Regions from separate parts of the Homo sapiens genome. Here region 1 is linked to region 2. The links are contacts of gene promoters, found by promoter capture Hi-C in blood cells and fetal thymus (Javierre and others, 2016). All regions are on one chromosome and are shown on one strand. The core of a region is centred on a gene start or on the middle of the fragment in contact, and the rest is flanking DNA. Distances in the headings are between cores, read along the strand shown.

Region 1 (2,700 bases), core at 185-2,684, 80 kb before region 2:
ACCCCTACCAGAGAATTGCCAGCTGCCCAGTGGTGCATATGAAAGAGGTCTTAGACACAGCAACTCTGGGTAAGTTTATTAGATCTCCATGGGGTTGAAATTCCATCTTCCATCTCTTTGCTTAAGAATCATCAGAGCCTGTTGGACAACATACCACATGTCACTTCCTCTTGGTGAACAGAGGGGATGTGTGTGGAAGAGCCAGTTATATCAGAACCATTTCTGAGCACACATTCTCTCCCTAAGGCCAGGGAGTAAAGAACATTTGACTCAGGATCCTTTGAGCCTGGGTAGAAGGTACCCGCCCCCTTCCTCTCAGGTATTATCCTGTTCCAAGCTGCACCGACTGGCTACTGTGGTGGCATCGGGTAATTATCCTGGAGACTGCGGCTGGGAGATCCTTAAGGGTAGGAGTTATGGGCTATTCTACTCAGGGCTATGTTCTAAATTTAGCATCCCTACAGGAAAGGGGAAGGAAATTAGTCTTTATTGAGTACCTGTTAAGTACTAGGCACTGTGTTAGGTCCTCTACTTATGCAACCAGTGTTTCTTGAGCATCTACTGTGAAGCTAGCAGTGTACTAGGTGCTGGCCATAAGCCACGCATGGTACCTTCCTTCATGGAAACGGCATGCTGTTTCATATATTCTACAGTAACCTTCCAAGGAAGGTGAGTTTATTCCCAGTTTACACATGAAGGTCTTTGTGCCTAAGTGACTGACCCCAGGTGTCCCTCAGCCAGTTAAGTGTCTGAATGAGAATTTACACCAAGGTTGGCATAATTCTAAAGCCAACACTTTTCATCCTATCAAGTTGTCCAGGGAGTAATAAAGTGACCTAGACATGCTGGCCCAGAAAGCCAGAGATGCTGTTGGGCCAAGCAAACCATGCCTGTGAAGGTGCTCACTCTGGACTGATAACTGGCTTTGTTCAGGTAGCTATGGGAAGGATAGTTGGCAGTAGCAGGTTCCCAGAGGCGTGTTGGTAGCCTCAGATTCTGGCACTGGTAAAACTCAGACATGGCAGGTTTCAAGTGGGCATCAGGGTTTTGCCCAGAGTGAGCTGCTTATTAATTTTTTCTTTTTTTTTTTTTTTTTGAGACGGAGTCTCGCTCTTGTTGCCTAGGCTGGAGTGCAGTGGCGCGATCTCAGCTCACTGCAGCCTCTGCCTCCCGGGTTCAAGTGATTCTCCTGCCTCAGCCTCCCAAGTAGCTGGGATTACAGGCATGCGCCACCACACCTGGCTAATTTTGTATTTTTAGTAGAGATGGGGTTTCTCCATGTTGGTCAAGCTGGTTTCAAACTCCCAACCTCAGGTGATCCGCCTGCCTCAGCCTCCCAAAATGCTGGGATTACAGGCATGAACCACCGTGCCTGGCCCCGGCCAATTTTTTCATTGTTAAAACCCTCTCAGGCCCTGCCAATAGATGACAGTGGTGTGCGTGTGGGGAGAAGGTGGCCTGCCCCAGGTATCTCTACTTAGTGGTGGAGTGATGCTTCAAGGACTGAAAGTGTAGACCCTTAGCCAGATTACTGCCTGCCTGGAGTCACCTGATGAAATGCTGAACCTGTTCGGCTGTCTTGTCCATCTGTCTCTCCCGCCTGTAAAATGGAATAATGATAGCCAGCTGCCATAGCTTGACTCGAGTAAAGGATCTAGCACAAAAGCCCTTCTCCTGCCATAATTGTAGGGTGGAAACCCTTTAATGAATGGGCAGCTTCCCTCAGAGAACTGACTCTTCCCCCTAGAGTTTCTCCTTGAGAAACAAAGTCCCTGTGATACTTTCCTGGAATGTTGTATACATGACCTTCCCCGAAGGGACACAAGTGTTTCTGGTGCTTTCCAATGGGAATGTGGGAAGGGACCCAGGTGGGCCTTGCCACTTTGGGATTGCTGTCCCTGAAGAAATCCCTTAGCCTGATAGAAACGTAATTGTTGGGAGCAATGAACTGTGTTGGGGGAGAAAACATAACTTGGCCTTTCTTAAGCTGTATGGCTCAGTGGTCTGAGTTTCTGTAGATCTCTTATTGCCTAATGTGGCTTCTTCAGATGGATGTATGCTTAGTTGAAGCACCTCAGCTCCCTTTGCAGATAGTGGCAGTTCTGTGGTTTTCTTAGGGAAACCCCATTAGAAACCCCAAATGTGGAAATTTTTAGTAATCTCATTCGGGTCCCAAAATTAAGTAGAAGTGTCTCAGGGGCTCCCCCTTGAAACACCTACTTCTTCTGAGTGTACATTTGAGGTTGCTCTTAAAATTCTGTTACCATCACAGGGTTTTCCAGACTTCCTAGGAATAATTTCCCCAGTAGCCCCACAGAGCCCTTTAGCTTCTGTCGAAAATTACCCGGGTATTTTTTCAGGGGGCTCCAATGGAACCTGGAGGGTTTTCTTGACTTTTGTATGGGTGTCCCCAGATTTGTTTGGGCTGCATGAAACAGCAGTTGTTATCTCTGTCCCTTCCCCCAGCAGATATCTGTCCTGAGGCCAGTGGGCTTGAGCGTCCTCCTCTGTGTCCAGTCTCCCTGGTTTTGCCAGTGCCCTCAGCCTTCCATCATGGGGCTTTCTTGAAGCAACTGTGGTTTTGCCTGAGTTTAATGTGGATAGACATAGGGGTAATTCCCAGTGTACTGCTTTTCTACGGAAGTATAATCTCCTACTGCCTTAATTAAGCAGAGGCCCTGTCCCCACCCAACCTCCAAC
Region 2 (2,700 bases), core at 121-2,620:
CCCCGCGCACTCCATTTCCTGGAGAAACTTGACCTTGGACCAAGGAGTGGGATCATGGGAACATGGGAAGTGTGGTAGGAACAGGCCCAGGGTGGCATGGAAGGGCAAAGGGGGCAGCCTGCAGAGGGGACCCCTGCCCCTATCTCTGGAGTTAGGCAGGGAGGAAGGAGTCCAGGTCTCACTGGTGCCTTCTGAGCTGTGCATCCCTCGTCTTCCACCTCCACCTTTCCTCAGCACCAAGCTCCAGGCAGCTCTGGGGAGCATCTGGGGGCGTGAAGGTATAGATGAGTTCTGCCCCCACATCACCCTCTGCCCCCAAACCGCAGGGCCAGATGGAAAAATCCTTTTCCACTGGTATGGTAGTGGTAGGGGTGTCCCAGTGTTTCAAGGTCACCCTCATGCCCTTGACCCTTCTAATTTTGTCTGATATCCCCAGCGGGGGGCCAATGGGGGTCCTAGACCTTTGAAGCCCCTTTTTGGGACCTCAATTCACCATCTGAGAAGTGGGAGGAGGCCTAAGTCTTGGGCCAGGGTCTGAAGAGTTTGAGGCTGAGGGCTTGGGTTCTGGTGCCAGCCCCAGCTCAGTCTGGCCAGATTGGAGAACCCCGCTCACTTGTTTGCTCCCCAGAGGAAGCTGGGTGGGGTCCAGGTGGAGAGGGAGCAGTTCTTGAGTCTCTCTTCCCTGCAGGGGCCAGAGGCCCCTGCACCGGCAGAACAGACAGACGGTCTGGCCCCCACCCCTTCCCCCCTAATTGGCTGCCTACGTGCACACAGGCCTGCTCTGCTGGATCTGGTTGGGGTGGGGACTGGGCTTAGCCAGTCTGGCTGAGCCCAGTCTCCCACCCCCAGGGAAGACTCAGGGTTTGGCATCCATGGTGGTGGGGAGGGGCTTTAGAGGATGGGGACTTAACTGGGTCAGAGGGAGGGAGACACACATCTGGGGAAAAGAAGGGGAGTCCCACATCTAGGGAGAGAGAGGGGCACCCAACAAATAGAGTGAGGGAGGGGGCACACTACAGGTGATAAGTGGGAGGGGGCGGCCCACACTTCTGGAAAAGAGGGGCTCCGGCCAGTGATTATGATTAGTGGGTGGGAGAGCTCCACATATCAAGAGAGGGAGGATGTAATCTATATTTGGGGAAAGAGATGGCACACATATGCAGACTCCCCAGGAGTCTTCAACTCTAACCTACAAGAAGCCCCCCAACCCTCTAAGACAGGGACCACTGGGGCGTGACCCAGCGGCGAAGGCAGGAGACCGAGCCGCGCCCCTGACCCGCGCGGGCTTGGGTGGCGGGGTCCTCCCCCAACTCACTCACCTCGCGGGCTCGGCAGTGGGAGCGCGACCTGGGTCTGCCCAGCGAGCAACTGAGAACCCGCTGCGGAGGGACCTGAGTGCGGGCGCCCGCCCCCGGCCCGCCCCACAGCCTTTCTCGGGGCCGCCCCAGCGTGGGAACGTCCTGCTTCGGCAGGGCGTGGGAGCGCACAGCCTGCGTCCCTGGGGGCACCCCGGCCCACAGATTGGGGGGAGGCACTGCAGAGCGCCTCCTGCATCAGTGTCCCTACCGGGGTCCTGCCTCTGGAGACCCTCTGCAGACAGTAGTCCCAAGAACAGGGTCTCCCTGCCTCCTCCACACCTCCCCTCCTTGCTGTTTCTCCCACCTGGGATGTTCTCTTCAGGCCTTTGCAGACGCAAACCTTCCAGCCAGGCCCAATGCCTCCTACTCCAGAAGCATCTTTTAGGCCAGCAGTGGCTCACGCCTGTAATCCTAGCACTTTGGGAGGCCGAGGCGGGAGGATCACCTGAGGTCAGGAGTTTGAGACCAGCCTGCCCAGCATGGCGAAACACCTTCTCTATTAAAAATAGAAAAATTGGGCGGGCGCGGTGGCTCATGCCTGTAATCTCAGCGCTTTGGGAGGCCAAGGCAGGCAAATCACGAGGTCAGGAGTTTGAGACAGCTTAGCCAACATGGTGAAACCCCATCTTTACTAAGAATACAAAAATTAGCTGGGCGTGGTGGCACGCACCTGTAATCCCAGCTACTCAGGAGGCTGAGGCAGGAGAATCGCTTGAACCCGGGAGGCGGAGGTTGCGGTGAGTCGAGATCCGGCTACTGCACTCTAGCCTGGGCAGCAGAGCTAGACTCCATCTCAAAAAAAAAAAAAAAAAAAAAAAAAGTTAGCAGGGCGTGGTGGCGCGCACCTATAGTCCCAGCTTCACAGAGGGCTGAGGCAGGAGAATCACTTGAACCTGGGAAGCGGCTGTTGCAGTGAGCCGAGATCGGGCCACTGCACTCCAGCCTGGGCAACAGAACAAGACTCTGTCTCAGAAAAAAAGAAAAAGAAAAAGAAAAAAAAAATTCCCAGCACTTTGGGAGGCCAAGGGGGGCAGATCATGAGGTCAGGAGATGGAGACCATCCTGGCTAACACAGCGAAACCCCGTCTCTACTAAAAATGCAAACAAAATTAGCCAGGCATGGTGGCAGGCGCCTGTGGTCCCAGCTACTCAGGAGGCTGAGGCAGGAGAATGGCTTGAACCCGCAAGGCAGAGGTTGCGGTGAGCCAAGATCATGCCACTGCACTCGAGCCTAGTGACAGAGCGAGACTCCATCTCAAAAAAAAAAAAAAAAAAAATAGACAAGGCTCAGGCACATTTATTCAAGAATTACTTATAAAACTGGGCGTGGTGGCTCATGCCT

What was found. The method cuts DNA at HindIII sites, captures the fragments that hold promoters and counts their contacts. A CHiCAGO score of 5 or more calls a contact.
Region 1: a contact is called between a fragment that was not itself captured here and the fragment with the promoter of COX4I2 in region 2, in 11 of 17 cell types (megakaryocytes, M1 macrophages, erythroblasts and 8 more). The highest score is 10.1, in megakaryocytes.

What each region holds. Positions count from the first base shown.
Region 1 is chr20:31,717,052-31,719,751 of GRCh38, reverse strand. All of the region lies in intron 2 of BCL2L1 (BCL2 like 1), which reads left to right. Among named protein-coding and RNA genes, the nearest start is that of BCL2L1, 4.5 kb to the left of the region's middle. RefSeq lists a silencer at 1,358-1,457 and an enhancer at 1,688-1,737. The HindIII fragment of the contact is 4,439 bases long and covers 1-2,700 here.
Region 2 is chr20:31,636,582-31,639,281 of GRCh38, reverse strand. COX4I2 (cytochrome c oxidase subunit 4I2) reads right to left here and starts at 1,370. Exons shown (of 5, transcript NM_032609.3): 1 at 1,320-1,370; 2 at 183-264. The coding sequence starts at 264. RefSeq lists a silencer at 1,310-1,449. The HindIII fragment of the contact is 5,408 bases long and covers 1-2,700 here.